Linked DNA regions of Homo sapiens: all the other regions are linked to region 1. Evidence: promoter capture Hi-C in 16 types of primary human blood cells and fetal thymus (Javierre and others, 2016). All regions are on one chromosome and are shown on one strand. Each heading gives the region's core, a stretch centred on a gene start or on the middle of the fragment in contact. The rest is flanking DNA. Distances are from core to core; before and after follow the strand shown. Region 1 holds the start of FDPS (farnesyl diphosphate synthase). Region 2 overlaps ASH1L (ASH1 like histone lysine methyltransferase). Region 3 overlaps ASH1L (ASH1 like histone lysine methyltransferase).

The links. Contacts are between HindIII fragments. The CHiCAGO score rates a contact against its expected background, and 5 or more counts as called.
Region 2: a fragment that was not itself captured here is called in contact with the fragment with the promoter of FDPS in region 1 in 1 of 17 cell types (endothelial precursors); the score reaches 6.5 in endothelial precursors.
Region 3: a contact is called between a fragment that was not itself captured here and the fragment with the promoter of FDPS in region 1, in 1 of 17 cell types (endothelial precursors). The highest score is 5.2, in endothelial precursors.

The regions. Positions count from the first base shown.
Region 1 is chr1:155,307,130-155,310,983 of GRCh38, reverse strand. It overlaps FDPS (farnesyl diphosphate synthase), which reads right to left and starts at 2,118. Exons shown (of 11, transcript NM_002004.4): 1 at 2,019-2,118; 2 at 1,019-1,195; 3 at 779-941. The coding sequence starts at 1,194. It also overlaps a transcript of PKLR not described here. RefSeq lists enhancers at 1,759-1,928, 2,259-2,388, 3,291-3,360. The HindIII fragment of the contact is 5,584 bases long and covers 674-3,854 here.
Region 2 is chr1:155,537,836-155,541,689 of GRCh38, reverse strand. All of the region lies in intron 1 of ASH1L (ASH1 like histone lysine methyltransferase), which reads left to right. Among named protein-coding and RNA genes, the nearest start is that of ASH1L-AS1, 22 kb to the left of the region's middle. RefSeq lists a silencer at 820-869. The HindIII fragment of the contact is 4,484 bases long and covers 1-3,854 here.
Region 3 is chr1:155,499,572-155,503,425 of GRCh38, reverse strand. All of the region lies in intron 2 of ASH1L (ASH1 like histone lysine methyltransferase), which reads left to right. Among named protein-coding and RNA genes, the nearest start is that of ASH1L-AS1, 61 kb to the left of the region's middle. RefSeq lists enhancers at 3,061-3,230, 2,911-3,412. The HindIII fragment of the contact is 3,787 bases long and covers 31-3,817 here.

The DNA of each region.
Region 1 (3,854 bases), core at 869-3,368:
AGACAGCATTTATAAAAAGAATTTTAATAGATACTCCAGAATCAACAGGAAAAAAATTGGCAAGTATCACAGCAATAGTTCATGTTCTAGAATAGGGGTTTCTAATGATACAATAACTTCACTCAGGCCCCAGGGAGATAGGACAATATCAGACTGCCTTCTTCCCCGGTCTCTGCCAACCTAACAGCTTCTGATTTCAGGACACAAAATCTAAGACTTGCCAGGTTCAAGGCCTCCACCCCCAAAGCAAAGCAGTTTGGATGACCCACCTTCCATCAGAGCCAAAAGTCCGGTTGATGGACTGAGTAAGTATACTTGCCCAGGCCCCAACCTCTCCAGAGCAGACTCGAGTCCCTCAGGTAAAAGCTTTCTCGGCCAGGCGCGGTGGCTCACACCTGTAATCCCAGCACTTTGGGAGGCCGAGGTGGGTGGATCACCTGAGGTCAGGAGTTCGAGACCAGCCTGGTCAACACAGTGAAACCCCGTCTCTATTAAAAATACAAAAGTTTGCTGGATGTGGTGGCACGCACCTGTAATCCCAGCTACTCAGAAGGCTGAGGCAGGAGAATCACTTGAACCCAGGAGGTGGAGGTTGCAGCAAGCCGAGATCACACCATCGCACTCCAGCCCAGGTGACAGAGCAAGGCTCTGTCTCAAAAAAAAAAAAAAAGCTTTCTCTCACATCTGTCAAAAGTCCCCCATAAGCCACAGGTGAATGCCACACAGGTACAGAGCAACTGAACCAAAGCCTTACTCCCCCAAGTCATGAATCCCTCACCTCCTTGAGCCGGGCAATAGCATCTCCTATCTCTGGGTGCCCCATCTCATCCTCAGTCAGCACCCTAACGATCTGGGAGAAGTGCTGAACGAAATCCTGCTTTTCTTGGGCATAAACATCTGAATTCTGGTCTCCGTTCATTCTGAGGGAGGAGCAAAGGGCTCTAAGTAGAAGAAAAACAAGTCAGAAACCTGATCAGCTGCTCCCCTCCCCAAGGCCCCTCACCCCAACCACACTCACCGAGGTTCCTCTGTCCACGCTTGGCACCAGCAGCGGGCACTGTGCCAGGCCAGGACTGGGTACCCGTGCACCAGGGAGGGCCGCCGTAGGGAACCCAGCCACCTCTCCCGGGGTGCCCAGTAGGGGGCTGGCAGCAGGAAGACCCCCACAGATCTCAACCAGCGGGACAGGGGCATCCTGGGAGTGGCATAGGGAGGGGGCACTAAGCACTCCCTGCAGGGGCAAGCACCAAAGGCAGAGGCATGGTGGCAGCTCCCCAGATAACTCCCACCCCAGCCTTAGCCCAGAGTGCCCCTCCCTCTTGTGGAATGTGCTTGGGGACAATTACAGGAAGGATACGCAGGGAACAAAAAAGTATGGCTGGGTGACTGAGACCCAACTAATCACCACTTACAATAAACAGGCTAGAACTCAGTGCCTTCAAGATGGCGTGCACAAGGCTGGGTAAGGAGGCGGTACAGAGTAAAGTACCCCAGGATTAGGGGCTGAAAGGACCCTTAAGTCATCCTATTTTACACAAGCCAAACTGAGGCTCTAGGAGGTAGGAAGATAGTAGAGGCAGAGCCAAATCTAGAACCCAGGTCTCCCCTGGGCAGTGGAGAGGGGTGCCCAGGGTCTGAGTTACGCCCCAAGGAGGAAAGAAGCATTGGAGCGAGAACCCATGGGTGCTGCATCCATATGGTCCGGGGTGCTTGAACCGCGCGTCCCAAGCCCCACAGGAATCGCTAGGACTGAGCAGATAGGCTCGGAGCAACTCTGGACGGGAGAGAAGGGCTCGCAGCAAAGGAGTAAACCGGGGTCCGGGCATATTGGGGATTCCAGGAAAGCACAAGGGCAGAGTTGGGAAGTCTCCACACCCCTAGAAGGCCAGCCAGTCTAGCCCACCGACCTTCAAAACGGACACAACAGGCTGGCCTTCCGATGCCTCACAGTATCGTTACAGAAGTAAGGCCCGGTCTCGGCCCCCTTCCTCCAAGGCCCAGCACACATCCTCTCTCACCTGTTCCCAGATACGGATTCCTGCTCGGTCCCGCTTGTTGGCGGGTACTCCTAAAAGCAGAATCCGCTCCGCGATCGGCTCTGTGGGTCGAGTAGTTCCCGCTCTCCCCACACTAAGGGCGGAAATATATAATTAGACTACAACTCCCAATGTGCCCGCGGGAGGGACAGATAACGCGATCCTGCGTGTCCTGGCTGGGCGAAGATGAGCCGCGCTGATTGGCTGCTGGCCGTCGTGTGAGCATGGCGCACTGTGGCACTGTGACGGACGACCAATGGAAGGGCTGAAGTCTAGAGGTCGCGGCTGGAGGCGTCAGTGCCGGAAGCGAGCCAGGCTGGGAACGTCCCCGCTGTGGCTTTGGCTGCCTGTCTTACTCAAGTTTTCATTATCTTCCTGGGCAGCTGATTGGCACGTTAGTAAAACGCAGCAGGACTAGCTTTCTCACTTATTAGTTCTCTAACTTTAGGCAAATCATTTAACGTCTCTGATCCTCAGTGAACTTGCTTGAAACTAGCTTTCCTCATCTGTTGAATGAGGGTGGTAATACCATGAGGTAATGTGTGCAAAGTGCTTTAAGGGCTTAAGAAAGATGAGTCTTGGGCCGGGCACGGTGGCTCACGCCTGTAATCCCAGCACTTTGGGAGGCCGAGGCGGGTGGATCATGAGGTCAGGAGTTCGAGACCAGCCTGACCAATGTGGTGAAACCCCGTCTCTACTAAAAATACAAAAAAAAAAAATTAGTCGGGCGTGGTGGCGCGCGCCTGTAATCCCAGCCACTCAGGAGGGCTGAGGCGGGAGAATCGCTTGAACTCGTAAGGCAGAGGTTGCAGTGAGCTGAGATCCAGCGAACCACTGCACTCTAGCTGGGGAGACAGAGCAAGACTCCGTCTCAAAAAAAAAAAAAAAAAAAGATGAGTCTCACACTTGTAATTCCAGCACTTTGGGCGGATCACCTGCGGTCAGGAATCTGAGACCAGCCTGGTCAACATGGCAAAACCCCTTCTCTACTAAAAATACAAAAATTACCCAGGTGTGCTGGTCCGCGCCTTAATTCCAGCTACGTGGGAGGCTGCAACCTCGCTTCCCGGGTTCAAGTGATTCTCCTGGATTACAGGTGCCTGCCAGCATGCCCAGCTAATTTTTGTGTTTTTAGTAGAGAGGGGGTTTCTCCAGATTGGCCAGCCTGGTCTCGAACTCCTGACCTCAAGTGATCCAGCCACCTCGACCTCTGAAAGTGCTGGGATTACAAGTACGAGCCACTTGGCCCAGGCAGTTATTTATTGATTATAAGCTAAACAAGGGTTGGATTATTCATGCCTCTGCTTTGTAGACCATATACAGTTAACTCCCTGATGTCGACACAGCATGTGGTAGGAGTATAGCGTTGAAGACCACCAGAGGTCACTCTTGTTGCCATCTTGGTTTTGGTAGGTTTTGGCCAGTTTCTTTACTGCAATCTGTTTTATCAGCAAGGTCTTTATGACCTGTATCTTGAGCCAATCTCCTATCTCATCCTGTGACTTAGAATGCCTAAACCAACTGGAAATGCAGTCCAGTAGGTCTCAGCCTTATTCTACCCAGTCCCTATTCAAGATGGAGTTGCTCTGGTTCACGCACCTCTGACAATTATGCTAAGTGAAATAAGCCAGACTCAAAAGGACAGATACTGTATGATTCCGTGTATATAAGGTACTGTCACCGGTGGAGGGTGTCCAGGTTCTTGGCATCTTGAACAAAGAATTGGACAAAACACGGCTGGGTGCAGTGGCTCACGCCTGTAATCCCAGAGCTTTGGGAGGCCAAGGTGGGCGGATCACGAGGTCAGGAGTTCAAGAC
Region 2 (3,854 bases), core at 948-3,447, 230 kb before region 1:
CATAAATATGAAACTAACTAGATTTATTGGATATCAGTACTTTGAGAGTTAGAAATGGTTACTGATTGTCATCTTTTCAGTGAAGGGTTCTATAGTTGAGTAAAAAATTTGTCTAACTTTGTAAGTATAGTTTATATTGTAGAAATTGCTTCCAATTTTGTTGGTAACTTCATGAAGCTATTCTAATTTTTTTGTGATTTTAGTGACTTATATAATATTAGTGACTTAGTAGTTTCATGTAAAATATCTTCAAACTAATTAGGGCATGGGTTACTCTTTTACCTTTGGAAAGCACATTACATGGTGTATATAGTGCTTATTTTTTAAATTATAGAAACTGAAAAATTTATATAATATTTAAAGAAAAATATCAATTTTTAATATTTTAAGTTTCATTTTGCCTATTCTCTTTTATCTATATACACGTTTTAAAATGTAGAATTAATGTTTGTTTACTCATTCAATAGATATTTTTTGAATGCCCTTTATGTTCTAGGTGCTTTGCTAAGGATGTAGCAGTGAATACAGCAAACAGGATTTTTATTCTCATGTAATGCATGGTCTAGTGGAAGATATGGATATTAAATAACTTAATTGGTATAATGCATATTAAGAGACTTATAGTATGGATATGCACTTAGCAGGGTGATCTGCCAGACTCAAGCCATCCTCCCGCCTCAGCCTCCCAAGTCTAGGGGAATAGGAAATGTCTCCCCGAGGGAATGACTTTTAAACTAAGATGGAAAGGAAGAGAAGTAGTCATATGGAAAGATGCTGGAAGAGAGTTCCAGGCAGAGAGAACTAACTGTATGTTCTAAAGGAGGGAAAACAGTTATTTGGGAACTGAAAAGTGCTTCAAACACATGTATCACAGATGTATGAGTGTTTGCTTTTTTGTTGTTTCCTGTTGTTGTTGTTGTTAAGACAGGGTCTCGTGTTGTCACTCAGGCTGGAGTGCAGTGGTGTGATCTTAGCTCGCTGCAGCCTTGACTTCCCAGGCTCAAGCGATCCTCCCACCTCAGCCTCCCAAGTAGCTGGGACTATGGGCATGAGCCACCATATCCAGCTAATTTTTGCATTTTTTGTAGAGATGGGGTTTTGCTGTGTTGCCAGGCTGATCTCAAACTCTTAGACTCAAGCAGTCTGCCTGCCTTGGCCTCCCAAAGTGCTGGGATTACAGGTTTGAGTAACTGCACCCAGCTGAGTGCTTGCTTTTTTTTGGTGGTGGTTATTTGCTCTTGCTCTGCTCACAACAGTGTGGGGAATGGTGAGGCCAGAGATATGTAGGGGCAGTTAACAACAACAAAAAGTAAACAGTGATACTGTGAAGTGCTGTTCTAAGTACTTTTCATATATTAGTTTATTGAACCCTTACAACAATTTCTATTCACATTTGAGAGAACTGAGGCCGTGAGTACTTTGCACAAAATTAATATAGCAGGACTAGCTTCTGAGACTGTGTTTTGGCTTCAGAGACTATATTCTTAACCACCAAACCATGCTGCAGATTGTAAGTTGCAAGTTATGAGTGTGATTAGGGACTTTTATATATGAAGGGCAGTGAGAAAACATTCAAAGATTTTAAGCAGGGAAATTACATTATCAGAATTTTTTTTTTTTTTGAGACAAGGTCTTGCTCTGTCACCCAGGCTGGAGTCAGTGGTGCAATCATAGCTCACTGTAGCCTTGACCTCCTGGGCTCAAGGAATCCTCCCACCTCAGCTTCCTGAGTAGCTGGTACTACAGGTGGGTGTGCCACAACACCTAGCTGATTTTTTATTTTATTTTTTATTTTTAGTGGAGATGAGGTCTTGCTGTGTTGCCCAGGCTGGTCTCAAAATCCTGGGCTCAAGCGATCGTCCTGCCTTGGCCTCAAGCGATCTTCCTGCCTTGGCCTCAATGTGCTGGGATTACAGGCATGAGCCACTGGGCCTTTGAGAAAAACAATCTCTAGTGGCTCACGCCTGCATTCCCAGCACTTTGGGAGGCCGAGGCTGGAAGATCGTTTGAGCCCAGGAGTTCGAGACCAGCCTGGGCAACATAGCAAGATGCTGTCTCTACAAAAATAAAAAATTGGCTGGGCATGGTTGGTGTGTGCCTGTAGTCCCAGCTACTCAGGAGGCTAAGGCTGCTTGGGCCCAGGAGGTTGGGACTGCAGTGAACTATGATCGTGCCACTGCTCTCCAGCCTGGGTGACAGAGCAAGATTTTTTCTCAAAGAACAAGAACAAAATATATATATATATATAAAATAAAACACCTTTCTGGATGTAGCTTGGGCTGGAGGAGAGCAAGGTAGATGTACAAAGAAGTTAGAGGGCTGTTGCTATATTCTGGGTGAGAATTGTTGGTTTTTTTGGACAAGTCAGTGGGAGAATTGGAGAGGAACTCTATGTAATCACAGATTATTTATGTGACATTCAGAAGTTTTGGTGTTAGGTTGAAGGTTGACAATAAGGGAGTGAGAATAGTCAGGATGAGTGCCACTGCACTCCAGCCTGGGTGACAGAGTGAGACTCCATCTCAAAAAATAAAAAATAAAAATTAAAAAATTAAAAAGATACCAAAAGATTTTAGAGAAGCAAAAGACTGACTGAACCTAAAGAATTCCAACATCTGGGAGTCTGGTAGGCCAAATCAGATCTGCAGATAAGACTCAGGAGTGGCTTCCAGAGAGGTGGCAGGAATGTGTACTATCATAGTAACCTGTAGTAGTTTGACTAGTAGTAGCTCTGACTTGAGCAATTGGTGGTACTGAAATGGGAAAGATTGGAGGAGGATTAAACTTTGTAAAGATATTGAACCAGGTTTCAGATATACTGTCTGGAGCTTAAAAGTCTTAAGTAGTATAATAAATTACACAGGGAAAGAATCTAGAGTAGGAGCCAGGTGCAGTGGCACATGCCTATGGTCCCTATTACTTGGGAAGCTGAGGTGGGAGGATCCCTTGAGCACAGGAGTTGGAGGCTGCAGTAAGCTATTATTATGCCACTGTACCCCAGGCCAGATGATAGAGCCGTCTTTATTAAAAAAAAAAAAAAAAAAAAAAGGCTGGGTACAGTGGTTCACACCTGTAATCCCAGCACTTTGGAAGGCCGAGGCGGGCAGATCACGAGGTCAGGAGTTCAATATAGTGAAACCTTGTCTCTACTGAAAATATAAAAAATTAGCCGGATGTGGTGGTGCGTTCCTGTAGTCCCGGCTACTCGGGAGGCTGAGGCAGGAGACTCGCTTGAACCCAGAAGGCAGAGGTTGCAGTGAGCCGAGATTGCGCCATTGCATTCCAGCCTGGGTGACAGAGTGAGACTCCATCTCAAAAACAAACAAACAAACAAACAAACAAAAAAACGCCAGGTGCCATAGCTCATGCCTGTAATCCCAGCACTTTGGGAGGCTGAGGTGGACAGATCACTTGAGGTCAGACGTTCAAGACCAACCTGGCCAAAATGGTGAAACCCCATCTCCAAAATGCAAAATATAAGTACTAAAGATACAAAAATTAGCCTGGCCTGGTGATGCGCACCTGTAGTCCCAGCCACTTTGGAGGCTGAGACAGGAGACTCACTTGAACCCAGGATGCAGAGGTTGCAGTGAGCCAAGATGGTGCCACAGCACTCCAGCCTGGGTGACAGAGTGAGACTCCATCTCCAAAAATAAAAATAAAAAATAAATAAAAATTAAAAAATTTAAAAAATGCCAAAATATTTTAGAGAAAGAAAAGACTGACTGAACCTAAGGAATTCCAACATCTGGAAGTCTGGTAGGCCAAATCAGATCAGCAGATAAGACTCAGGAGTGGCTTCCAGAGAGGTGGCAGGAATGTGTACTATCACAGTAACCTGTAGTAGTTTGTGT
Region 3 (3,854 bases), core at 675-3,174, 190 kb before region 1:
TTTTGGAAAACATATCAAAGTATACAAGCTTGCAATAAAAAGTTCTACTATATTAGGAAGTCAGAGTTTAGGAGGTACACAAAGGCATTTTGACAAAAATGCACAGATGGTAGATACACTAGAATATTTTAGCTGTATTGAGTGAAGCTACATTGAATTACTAACATCTGAGGATATATATGAAGGCACAAAAATGATCCTAACATCTTTCTGTAGGATTTGATAGTAACTCTCACAGTAAAAACAGTGAAACAAAATGGCACCTGCTTCTCAGCCTCACTTTTTCATTTCTTAGCAAAATTACTGAGTGTGATTATTGTGTAGTTCCTTGCCTAGTCTTTGATTTTACGGGCTGGGGGCTCCAAAAGATTGCTGAGGAGATCAAAAGCAGATGCTGAAAATTATAAGCCAAGGCAGGGGAGCTTGGTAACCTTTCTTTCTAAGCTGTTTGTTGATTATAACGGTTAGGGCAATTATGAAGGTTAGGAATTATGAAATATGGAAATTCTCCTAAGCATACTTGGTAACTCTTAAAAATTCTATTTGTCTCAACCTCGATAACTAAAATTACCTAAGATAAATGAGAAAAATTAGAAAAGCAAATTTAATCACTAAATTTCTAAATAAAAAGCAAAAAGGATAAAAAAGTTTCACTGTGCAAGGAGAAAGGAAGGAGGATGAGGGAATGGAAAGACTCAGCTTAGACATCCCCCAATTCTGTGAAACGTTCCCTGAACCTTTCTAGGAGGTTACTCTATCCTCTGTGTTTCCATTGCATATATTTCTGTTTTTAACATATAGCACATTGTATAATAATTATTAATTGATTTCTCTATTTCTTTGGCTCCTTCAGTGTCAGGGTGATCTTTTAAGTTTGTGCTTTTTATGAGCAACACAGAAAATGCTTTAAAAACAGTTCAGTAAGACTGAAGAAAAGATCTGTAAGCATAAAACAAATACCATCATCATTACCAAAAATTCAGTGCTTAAAATATAGCTTGAGAATGTGAGTATTTATTTCCTTATTCCTAAGATTTTGCTTTTGAATACACTATCTGCCGGGCGCGGTGGCTCATGCCTGTAATCCCAGCACTTTGGGAGGCCAAGGCGGGCGAATCACAAGATCAAGAGATCGAGACTATCCTGGCCAACATGGTGAAACCCCATTTCTACTAAAAATACAAAAAATTAGCTGGGTGTGGTGGTGCGTGCCTATAATCTCAGCTACTCGGGAGGCTGAGGCAGAAGAGTTGCTTGAACCCGGGAGGCGGAGGTTGCAGTGAGCCAAGATCGCGCCATTGCACTCCAACCCGGATGACAGTGTGAGACTCTGTCTCAAAAAAAAAAAAAAAAAGAAAAGAAAAGAAAAGAAAACTGTCATAACTGTATTACTCAAATATTTCCTCTTCTCTCATTTGCTAAAAATATATAGTAAAACTTTCATGCCTATTTAAAACAATCTCTAGGCCGAGTGCAGTGGCTCATGCCTGTAATCCCAGCATTTTGGGAGGTTGAGGCAGGCGGATCATGAGGTCAATAGATCGAGACCATCCTGGCCAACATGGTGAAACCCCGTTTCTACTAAAAATACAAAAGTTAGCTGGGCATGGTGGCGTGTGCCTGTAGTCTCAGCTACTTGGGAGGCTGAGGCAGGAGAATCGCTTGAACCCGGGAGGTGGAGGTTGCAGTGAGCCGAGATTGCGCCACTGCGCTTCAGCCTGGTGACAGAGCGAGACTCTGTCTCAAAAAAATGAATGAATAAAACAATCTGTAGATTGCTATTTTTAAGAAATTGCGGATGCCAAGGTGGGCAGATCACCCGCGGTCAGGAGTTCAAGACCAGCCTAGTCAACATGGCAAAACCTGGTCTCTACTAAAAATATAAAAATTAGCCAGGAATGGTGACACCCACCTGTAGTCCCAGCTACTTGGAGGGATGGAGTACGATAATCACTTGAAACCGGGAGGTGGAGATTGCAGTGAGCTGAGATTGTGCTACTGCACTCCAGCCTAGGTGATAGAGTGAGACAATATGTAATAAATAATTAGGAACATCTGAAAGTAATCTTAGTTTAAGAAAACATTTTGAAGTTGGGCATGGTGGCTTAGGCTTGTAATCCCAGTTACTCAGAAGACTTGAGGCAGGAGGATTGCTTGAGGCCAGGAGTTTAAATCCATCCTTGGCAACGTAACAAGACCCCATTTCTGATTTTAAAAATAAGGAAGAAAGACAAAACATTTTTAGATGTCAAACACCTTTTGAAAGAGTTTAACACATCTTAATGACTTACCCCAAATAGGTGGTACCATATGAACCCAAGTCAAACAATTTTATTATTAATACTATGGGGTATTGTGTTTTTCCAATTGCCTTTTGTTTTGTTTTTATTTTTTAAACCAATTCTTTGTGTTTAGGCTCCTTAGCTCTTTTTTTTTAAATATAGTTTCTTTTTATTTAGAGACAGAGTCTCATTCTGTCGCCCAGGCTGGAGTGCAGTGGTGCAATATCAGCTCATTGCAACCTCTGCCTCCCAGGTTCAAGCGATTCTCATGCCTCAGTCTCCTGAGTAGCTGAGATTACAGGCATGTGCCACCATGTTCGGCTAATTTTGTATTTTTAGTAGAGACAGGGTTTCGCCATGTTGACCAGTTTGGTATCAAACTCCTGGCCTCAAGTGATCTGCACGCCTAGGCCTCCCAAAATTCTGGGATTACAGGTGTGAGACACCACGCCCAGTCTAGGCTCCTCAGCTCTTACCAGAGAATTTGGGACTTGTTAATAGGAGAAGATAGGCACATTCTGTCATCTTACTTGTGCCCTATGGGCTGCGTGCCATCTCAGAGTGCTTTTTTTTTTCCTTATGCCTATTTATGAAGAGGTCCAGAATGCATGTCTACATTATTTGACTGCTGCGTTTTCACTTCCATGTTCTTGTTGACAAATGCTATTCAAGCAAGAAGACCCGATTGTATGTAGGTATCTCTGAGTCTTGCTATGATGGATTCTGTAGTCTTACCTTCATCTTGATTGTTTACTTTAAAAGCTGCTTAAGCTAGAGGTATTTTTATGGTAGAGAAGAGAACAGTTGGCACAGAGCCCAGCTTCTCCATGGCAGCAGCAATTATGCAAATTATCCTGGATCTTTACATTTCAGTAAAACCTTTCTTCCCCCTTTACATACACAAAATAGACAGCTAAGGGGCTGTGATCTGTCCTAAAGCCTTGGAGATAAAACAGGATGTCACTCTTTTCTCAAAATGACTTCTATTACGGAAGCATGAGCTCCCTTAAATGGAAGGGCAAAGCAAATCCCTGCCATTGGGCTCTGCAGCCTCTGCTATAAATGTGCCAGGAAGATTAAAACTACCGTAATTAGTTTAATCAGGTTCATCCTCAATTCTTGCTTTCATTATGTAGTAGGAACTTCCCTAATCAGTACTGCATTTGGCTGATTGAAGAGTTCACTTTCATAGCTAGGATATCTGCTGGAGTCTGTATTGTGGTTTGTTTTAATGGTGTATATATGGTGAATGTGAATGTTTCTCATTTCATTGTTGATCTTGCTAATGGAAAAAAAAAATCATTATTGAACCAAATTGTTAGAAGGTATATCTTCTTTAGTCCCAGAGAATTAAGCCTAAATATCATTACTTTCACTCACTAATTCGTATACTGCTTTTTATGGTTGTCTGCTCATATCTTTGATTTCATTTTAATGATTGTAAATCACTCCAGAGATCCTCACATACGGCTGCTCAATAATTACACATTACTAATTAATTCTGAGCTACAGCTGTATGGAAATGAATGAAAGCTTTTTGAGAGACATCAGAATTAAAGGTCCTATATGATA